Regions from separate parts of the Homo sapiens genome. Here region 2 is linked to region 1. The links are contacts of gene promoters, found by promoter capture Hi-C in blood cells and fetal thymus (Javierre and others, 2016). All regions are on one chromosome and are shown on one strand. The core of a region is centred on a gene start or on the middle of the fragment in contact, and the rest is flanking DNA. Distances in the headings are between cores, read along the strand shown. Region 1 holds the start of RPS15A (ribosomal protein S15a). Region 2 overlaps GDE1 (glycerophosphodiester phosphodiesterase 1).

Region 1 (4,506 bases), core at 554-3,053:
CCAGGCTGGAGTGCAGTGGCCGATCTCGGCTCACTGCAACCTCCACCTGCTGGGTTCAAACAATTCTCCCTGCCTCAGCCTCCAAAGAGCTGGGACTACAGGCGCCTGCCACCACGACCGGCTGATTTTTGTTTTTGTTTTTTGTTTTTTTAGTAGAGACGGGGTTTTGCCATGTTGGCCAGGCTGGTCTCGAAATGAGCTCAGGAGTCCTTTCAATGACTTAGATTCATTTAGCTCCCAAACACCTAGCAGAGCTCCTTTTTCCAGCAGTCCTACTCTAAGTGACTCTTCAGCAGTTTCAGACTATCCCCTCCTCCACAGCCCACAGGTCAATTGCATTCGTTCTCAGGTATGACAGACATACTTTGGTCCCCCATAATTAATTTCTACAGGACTGATTTCTTAGAGAGTCTCACATGAAAACATAAAACACAGCGGCAGCAGACTTACCATGCTTCATCATCACAGTGAGAAACCGGACGATGACTTTGGAGCACGGCCTAATAAGCACCTGGCGTTTGCCTCTCTTTTCGGCATTGTTGATACTCTTGAGAGCATCTGCCAGGACATTCATGCGCACCATTGTGGCTGTTCAAGGAAGACAAAACAGGAGGTTTTACTGGCATTGCCAACATCAACAGACACCAACCATTACACTGCGGAAGTATCCTTTCCTTTCTGGCCCCACCTTGGCGAAGTTTTCTCAAGTCTAAGCAGGCTGCTTCTCCATTTCCCACCACCCAGGAAAATTCCTATTTACTACGGTTGTTGAAAACAGGTTATCGGGACGTCAGCCTGCACATTTTGAAACTCATTCATTCACTAACCACTCTTCTTCGAATCGTGCCACACACCAACGTCTGGAGATAATAAAATGTGGGACAAAATCCACTTGACACAAGACAACGTGAGAACTGGCAGAAACTGCCAGCTACCGGAAGGAAAACATCGGGTATAGTCGATCAGTGATTCAGAACAGAAGCAGAGTATCATCGGCAACATTTTCCAAATTGCTGAAAATCAGCAGATTCCATACTATTAACATTGTACTTTAAATCAGTTCACTCTCACCTACAATGAACACATCTAACTATTAAACATCCATCTTCGTGCCATTTAAAATTGCGTCCAACAGCAAGAGCCACAGTGGCAAACAGAAACATTTTACATGCTTGTCAGACTGGACTCTCTTCTAATGGGCAAGAACCGCACACTACACTGAAGTTTTGAAAGACCAAAGTGCCAATAGTAAAGAGTAGAACTTAAATTCCTTAAGTTCAAAAGTGTCTAAAGAAAAACTCTGCGGCCCAGAAGATCCAAGTTGGCACCCAGCAAACTGCCAACCCCGGCACGATGCAGCTTTTACCTGCTGGGTGGCCTCAGCCTCCCAAGCTCCCAGCGCGGCCGCAGCAGTGAGAAGCTGCACGGCCCACCAGCCCCGATGTTGCCCGCCGCCCGGGGCCAAGGCGCTGCCTCAGCACTAAAGGGAGATCCAGACGCTGCGGCCCGAACCGGAGCTACCGCCTAGCTGGGCAGTCGAAGGCTCCGGCTCCCGCCCGCGCTGCGGCCTGCACCCCACGGACCGGGATCCCCTGAGTGCACAGTCTGGGGCGCCCAGCCATGGCTCTCCTCTATGCCTGTCCAGGAACCGGCAAGGCCAGGATCCTCGGCCAAGGTGGGGACCAGCCTCCTCGCAGGACACCGAGACCGAACCTTAGATTGCAGGATGGCGCCGATGGCAGACGGATGAAATTGGAGCTCTCAGAGAGTGCTACTCACCGGCGCGGAAAGATGGCGGAAAGAGGACGGGAGGGGAGAGCGCACGGAGTTATGGGAAGCGGGAGAGCTATCGCGAGACTTTCAAAGGCCCGGCAAAAACAAGGACCGCCTAGGAGAAGGACGAGGGTGAGGGAAAGGCGGAGCCTCCTCAGGGGTTGGCAGTTGAGAGTCGATGGAATCGACCTCCCCCGGTGGGGCCTGGGAGAGGCAAGGTGAGCCGTTCGTTGGAGGTTCGTCTACATTTTTTTTTTTTTTTTGAGACAGTTTCGCTCTTGTAGCCCAGACTGGAGTGCAGTGGCGTGATCTCGGCTCACTGCAACCTGCGCCTCCCGGGTTCAAGTGATTCTCCTGCCTCAGCCTCCTGAGTAGCTGGAACTACAGAGATGCGCCACCACGCCCGGCTAATTTTTGTATTTTTAGTAGAGACGAGGTTTCCCCAAGTTGGCGAAGATGTTCTTGATCTCCTGACCTTGCGATCCGCCCGCCTCGGCCTCCGAAAGTGCTGGGATTACAGGCGGGAGCCACCGCGCGGGCCTTAATTTTTATTTTAGTTTACTTTTGATAAGGAGTCTCGCTCTGTCGCCCAGGCTGGAGTCCAGTGGCGCGATCTTGGCGCACTGCAGCCTCCGCCTCCCGGGTTCAAGCGGTTCTCCTGCCCCAGCCTCCAGAGTACCTGGGATTACAGGCGCCCGCCATCACACCCGGCTAATTTTTGTATTTTTAGTAGAGACGGGGTTTCACCATGTTGGCCAGGCTCGTCTCAAACCCCTGACATCAAGTGATCTGCCCACCTCGGCCTCCCAAAGTGTTGGGATTACAGGCGTGAGCCACCACACCCGGCTAAAAATTTTTTTTTAATTAAAAAGTTAAGTTCAGACAAAAGTCACCCAACAGTTGTTTACTGAGCACCCATGTACCAGACGCTAGCAAGGCCCTGGGGTACGAGGTGCCCACACAGGCACCATTTAGCCAGTTCTGTCCCTGCCGGTTCTTCCAGCTTCGTCCTCTCTCACACGTCAATGCCCCTGCTCATTCGTTGCATTTCCTCTTCCCTCTAGCATGGTACCTGGATATTTGCTAAATAAAACTTAAACCTTTTATTTTTGTTCTTTTTTAAAATTTTTCCTAGACAGGGTCCTGCTCTGTTGCCCAGGCTAGAGTGCAGGGGTACACTCAGCTCAATGCAACCTCAAACTCATGGACTCCAGTGAACCTCCTGCCCAGGTCTCCCAAAGTGGTGGGATTACAGGTAGGGTACCTTATAGACATCTAAGGACCACACAGGGTACTTCATTAATCAGATTCATAAATCCAATCATAAATATTATATTGGCTAAGTTATAAAGAAAGTGAGACATGAAGATTCCAGCTTTTTTTATTTTTTCCCCTTTTACACAAAACAAAGTAGAAGAAATAATACAGGATTAAAACTGCAAAAGTAGTTAATCAGTAGAATATGTATGCACACAAAAAATCCAGATAGGAAGACAGGCTTATTTACAATGAAAGTAAGGTAAAATTAACGTAGTTTTCTTATGAAATAATAAAAAAAAATCAAACATATGCTACAATGGGCACCACTGTTCACAGCAATATTAAAGAGGAGAAAACAACACTTATTTAATAGGGACAGATATACCACAAGGTACAACATCAGTGCAATAAATTCACAAAACTATATTACAGCTAGTTAATCAGTTTAAGAATTGTTCCCGTCAGTCACATTTTTTGGCCCTCAGAAGTTCATTCCTAAAGATTTCAACTACTCTAAATTTCTAGCTACCAAGAAGTTAAGAATGATTATAAGAAGCTTTCCAAGGAGTTATGAAATCTTTGTAGACCAGAGGCCAACTATCATCACCTCAAGTCTGCTCTCACCAACAGCCCTTGTATTTTTCAGGGAGAAATCTCTAGGAAAAAAGTCAGACACCAGTGTAGTCACTATCTCCCATGTCAAACCTAGGGGACTAAAATGGTCAGTATTACCATAAAATGATAATTTTGAGGTTTACCTTAAAAGGCTTATTCTGGTCTCAAAAATTAGATAAGATTATCTTCTACTGAAATGAATATTGACTAAACATAGAAGACTGCTGTCCTTTTGCCAGTCTTAGAGTGAAAGTCATAGACATGAGTCTTAACCTACTGTATACTATAGCTAATGTCAGCTGAAAATCTGAAATTAAAAGCATGCTAGAAATCCTAAATGCAATCTTTTGGAAGTCTGCTATTAAAAAGCCTTTAAGGATTTACTAACTTCGAGTCTAAGTGCAAGGGGACGAAAGCTTAAGCCTGTCAGACATTCCTTTTCTTGGACAAAAAGATCAAAGTTTCCTACAAATTGCTAAGCTTTGCACAAGGGAGAAGCCTACATGTACTAGTGCATGGAATCAGTTTCATCTTATTTCATGGGGACTCTTCTCCCACTGGAAAGAAACAGAATGAGGAATGAATCTTAATTGGTCTCTTCATCAGAAGTGGTAAACTTGGTCTCTATATTCACGAAGTCAGACAGTTTTTTAAGCAGACTGTGGAAGCAGACAGAACCAGCTTCCTGTAGCCACAGACCACTACATGGTATCTAAGCTAAAGCAAAGATGAACAATTATCCAGATTCACTTGAACTGTACTAAAGGGCAAGGTTCACCACTACAAAAAGGAAGTTGTCTAAAAGCAAGAATTCAATTAACGCTGGGTAAGAAAAGTCAAAACACTAATGAGTTGTCC
Region 2 (4,549 bases), core at 333-2,832, 720 kb after region 1:
GGGTCCTATTCGAATGAGCAATTTATGAAAAACAACCATTTATGACATTTCCGAGACAAGTCAAAATTTATACACTGGATATTTGATGATATGAATAATTTATTGTTAATAATTTTTAGATGGGACAATGGCATTGTGGCTATGTTTTTAAAAAGGCATCACTAGGCTGGTTACTGTGGCTCATGCCTGTAATCCCAGCACTTTGAGAGGCTGAGGTGGAAGGATTGCTTGAGCTTAGGAGTTGGAGAACTGCCTGGGTAATACAGGGAGACCCTGTCTCTACAAAAAATAAAAATAAAAAATTAGCTGGGCGTGGTGACGTGCGCCTGTGGTCCCAGCTACTTGGAAGGCTGAGGCAGGAGGATCATTTGAGCCTGGAAGGTCAAGAGTGCAGTGAGCTGTGATCACACCACTGCACTCCAGCCTGGGAAACTGAGGGAGAACCCGTCTTTTAAAATAAATAAATAAATAAATAAATAAATAAATAAATAAATAAAATGGCATCACTTTTTAAAGATTCTTAATGCAATTTTATGGATGGAATAAGATTTGCTTCAAAATAACACTGGGGAGGATCAATGGGGTTATGGGTGAAATGAGCTGGATCACAGTTAAAGGGGGGGTACACTACTACTTTATTTTATGCATGTTTTAGATTCTCCATAATTAAGAATTTATTTTATGAAGGTATGTTCTGCTGTTAGTTGGTGAGAAGTAGGGGCTACATAATTCTTTTCTGTTGTGAGAATTTTACTACAGTAATCTGAGTGAGCCTATAAACAACATAAAAGAAGGGGCAAAAGAGGAATAATGGCATTCTGTAAGGGGTATGAGTACATTCCCCTTCTGGAATTTCTCTGGTTAATTTAAAAGAGGAGCTTCTCAACTGTGACCCTGATGCAGTTCAATTTAATAGGCATCTATCCTGTGCTTACGCAGCCCATTGCAATTATCTACACCAGCTCACCTAATATGTACAAGAAAAATCCCGAATGTTACCTTGTAGATAACTTCTGGCAAGAAAGAACAGACCACACTATTATTATACAGTTGAGGAAATTCCATATACATTTTCTTTAGAGCCTCAGTAGCCTGTAAAATAAAGAGATTCATATATTTAAAATTGATTAAAATGTGATAGATAGCCCCAGCCAATAACTATCACATATTAAGTACAACCCTATGGAATAAAACAGAAGTTTACTAGAAATGGAGGTACTGAAAGTATTGGTAGAGTCTATTATCCACTGGGATGCATTTTAAACTCACACCAGCAGCAAACAAGGAAGAAGGTGGAGTACTGCTGCTTTACTCCCTCTGAGGGCCTCACCCCTTTTGGAATACTTTTGAAAAGTGTGGTAAGCCGTAGGTCAGATGAGGCCAGAGGCAAAATTTTCCTTGCCTTATACCCTAGTTTAGCCACTATGAAAAGTCCTTTCATACCCACAGCTCTATCACTCTGTGCCTTTTCTAAATGAAACATGAGCCAGCCAGTCTGGGAACTACAGAGGATAGATTTCTCAGTCCAGGGGACTGAGAGGACGCATTACCCATCACCAATATGGAGGGAGAAGTAATGGGGCAAGGGTAGGAGGGACTGGGAAGAGTTAAGGGGCTCCCAATTCTTCCCAAGGTGAACAGAAGTTTCTTTTTATAGTAGTCTAGCTACGAAATGAAGAAGACATGATAGAATTTAAGTATTATTTGGTAACCCCTAGTGAAGTGACATCAATAGCAGCTAACAACAAGAAAGTCACCAGCCATGTGGGACGCAATGCTGCTGCTGCATAATTTGTGAAACACTGCTAATTTTTGGAATGTTACACATACCCCTAACCAAATATGATGAGCAAAATGCATTCCCCCACCAAAATAAAAAAGGACACAAATTATCCATGTCATGCCTCCTCTTCGCTAATGCAACTGAAGGCAAGCTATAGAAAGCATTTTTTTTTCTGTTTGAACAAAGACATGCACTGTAAACTCTTAGCATTTACATTATTTAATTCTCACAACAACCTTATGTGGTAACTGCTTTTAGTATCCCCATTTTACCCATGAAGAAACTGAAGCTCATCAAAGTTAAGGTTACCCTGTAGTAAGAGCTCAGTCAAGGACTGTTGGAGTCCCAAGCCCATGATTTTGGCCACTGTGCTCTACTAGCTCCACTTTGTTGCCTACACTTGTGCCTTTCTACTACCATCTTGGTGAATTAGGTCACTATGTTCTACCCAGTCTTGGCTGAACACCCATGAGCACCCATTCAGAAGACTCAAATAGCTAGATTTTCTTTTTTAAATGTCTACTTCTTTTTAAAAAGTATTCTAAGAGAAGCCAGGCGTGGTGGCTCACACCTGTAATCCCAGCACTTTGGGAGGCCAAGGTGGGCGGATCACTCGAGGCCAGGAGTTTGAGACCAGCCTGGCCAACATGGCAAAACCCCATCTCTACTAAATATACAAAAATTAGCCGGGTGTGATGGCACATGCCTCTAATCTCAGCTGCTTGGGAGGCTGAGGCAGGAGAATTGCTTGAACCCCGGAGGCAGAGGTTGCATTGAGCCGAGATCGCGCCAATGCACTCCAGCCTAGGTGACAGAGTGAGACTCTGTCTCAAAAAATCTAAGAGAATAAGCATAAAAGTCAGTATACCATGGGTGAAATGTAGGACCTATCAGGGTTCCCAAATGTGGGCTGCAACATCAACAATGAGCACCTGAGGTGCTCATTAAAAATACATGTTCCTTGAGCCCACCCTAGACATTTTCAGAATCTCTTCCCTAGGGAGAATGGCCCAGGAATTTATATTTTAAAATAGGTACAGGTGATTCTAACGCAGACCAATTGGAAAACCTAGACGTATACAACTATCGGTTTACTAGAATAATAAATTAGTTACCATTATCTTCCTTCTTCAAAAATAGGAATTAACTGTTAATAAAATTAGAGTGTATACTTAGGCTCCACATTTCAGGTTTTTTTTTTTTTTTTGAGACGGAGTCTCGCTCTGTCACCCAGGCTGGAGTACTACTGGCGCAATCTCGGCTCAGTGCAACCTCTGTCTCCCCGGTTCAAGCGATTCTCCTGCCTCAGCCTCCCGAGTAGCTGGGATTACAGGTGCCCGCCACCAAGTCCAGCTAATTTTTGTATTTTTAGTGGAGACAGGGGTTTCACCATGTTGGCCAGGCTGGTCTCGAACTCCTGACCTCAGGTGATCCACTCCCAAAGTGCTGGGATTACAGGTGTGAGCCACTGCACCCGGCCCATTTTGGGTTTTAACAACTGGTTTCAATGATATCATGGGATTAATTAAAAAAAAAAATTGGCATCATCAGAATTCTCAACCAGTAGATGGCCCTTACCGATTATTAATATTGCTAGGGGAAAAATACTCAAGTTGCCCAAATGGGGAAAAAAGTACTTGCACTTGAAAAGCTGGTTATAAGAGAACAAATGTAATCAGAATCATATCTTCCCACTGATTTTCACTGTAATAATATGTTCTTATGAGTGTAAGTGCAGGCCCTAAAATTTAAGCAAAATTTTATCTAGGAATGTCAAATACATTTGAAGAAAATAAATGATTTTCTGATAAAAGTATAACTGCTAAAATCAATGAATAAAAAACTATACATAAGGGATATAAATTATACAAAGGGATAAATCTATGTAAAAGGTATATGTTCTGTTAACTATTAGAAGCTTTTAATATAGGAATTCTCTTTAAATGCAGTCCATAGTTGTCCATATAAGGCCCTTAACTTTTAAGCTAGATAAAATTGGTCTTGTGTACAACTTCGGAATTCCTTTTTTTCAAGTAACTCAAGGTTACTACAGTGGTTTTTTTCTAGAAATGTCTTTTTTACTGTTTACTTAATATCTTTTGTAAATGCTTTATGTAAATAATAGAAACTTGACTCTTCCATTTTATGCTGGTTTTGTAAAGTTTCCATAAAAGGTTAAAAAGTTCCATAATGCACTGTTTCCTTAAATGATATAGATTCCTGCATTGTACACTTCCATTAAACAAATACAATTTATAAAAATAAGTTTTAAAAAGAATAAATAACAAAATATATGTAACTTCGGAAATGACCGTCAATGAAATAAGATGTCTTTTTAACAAAGTGAAGTCCACAATTTAAACTGTACCTTGTGTGCATGGCCTTTGACATCAAAGAAGATTGTGAGGTTATGGTTTAGGCACTCTGCAACAGCTTCCCTTAGGGTAGGGATCTTTTCATCAGGGAAATCATTCCTGTAAGAGAAGAGAAAATACGTTGTAGGAAAAAAGAGAAACAGATAAACTGTATTGCAACAAACATTTTGCATATGTCTCTCAATCAAAAGGAAAGAGTGTTTTCTCCAACTTCCTTTTTTCGACCATAGCAAAGTCCAAAGATACTTTACTTTAAGATTTTTTTTTTTTTTTTTGAGACGGAGTCTTGCTCTGTTGCCCAGCCTGGAGTGCAGTGGTGCAATCTCAGCTCACTGGAACTACCAACTCCCAGGTTCAAGCAATTCTCCCGCCCCAGCCTCCCAAGTAGCTA

Evidence for each region. The method cuts DNA at HindIII sites, captures the fragments that hold promoters and counts their contacts. A CHiCAGO score of 5 or more calls a contact.
Region 2: a contact is called between a fragment that was not itself captured here and the fragment with the promoter of RPS15A in region 1, in 2 of 17 cell types (neutrophils and fetal thymus). The highest score is 11.8, in neutrophils.

Annotation. Positions count from the first base shown.
Region 1 is chr16:18,788,531-18,793,036 of GRCh38, forward strand. It overlaps RPS15A (ribosomal protein S15a), which reads right to left and starts at 1,804. Exons shown (of 5, transcript NM_001019.5): 1 at 1,714-1,804; 2 at 451-588. The coding sequence starts at 583. ARL6IP1 (ARL6 interacting reticulophagy regulator 1) reads right to left here. Exons shown (of 6, transcript NM_015161.3): 6 at 3,139-4,506. RefSeq lists enhancers at 757-1,474, 1,412-2,041. The HindIII fragment of the contact is 4,087 bases long and covers 1-3,587 here.
Region 2 is chr16:19,506,688-19,511,236 of GRCh38, forward strand. GDE1 (glycerophosphodiester phosphodiesterase 1) reads right to left here. Exons shown (of 6, transcript NM_016641.4): 3 at 4,152-4,257; 4 at 1,000-1,092. Among named protein-coding and RNA genes, the nearest start is that of GDE1, 13 kb to the right of the region's middle. The HindIII fragment of the contact is 4,234 bases long and covers 1-3,699 here.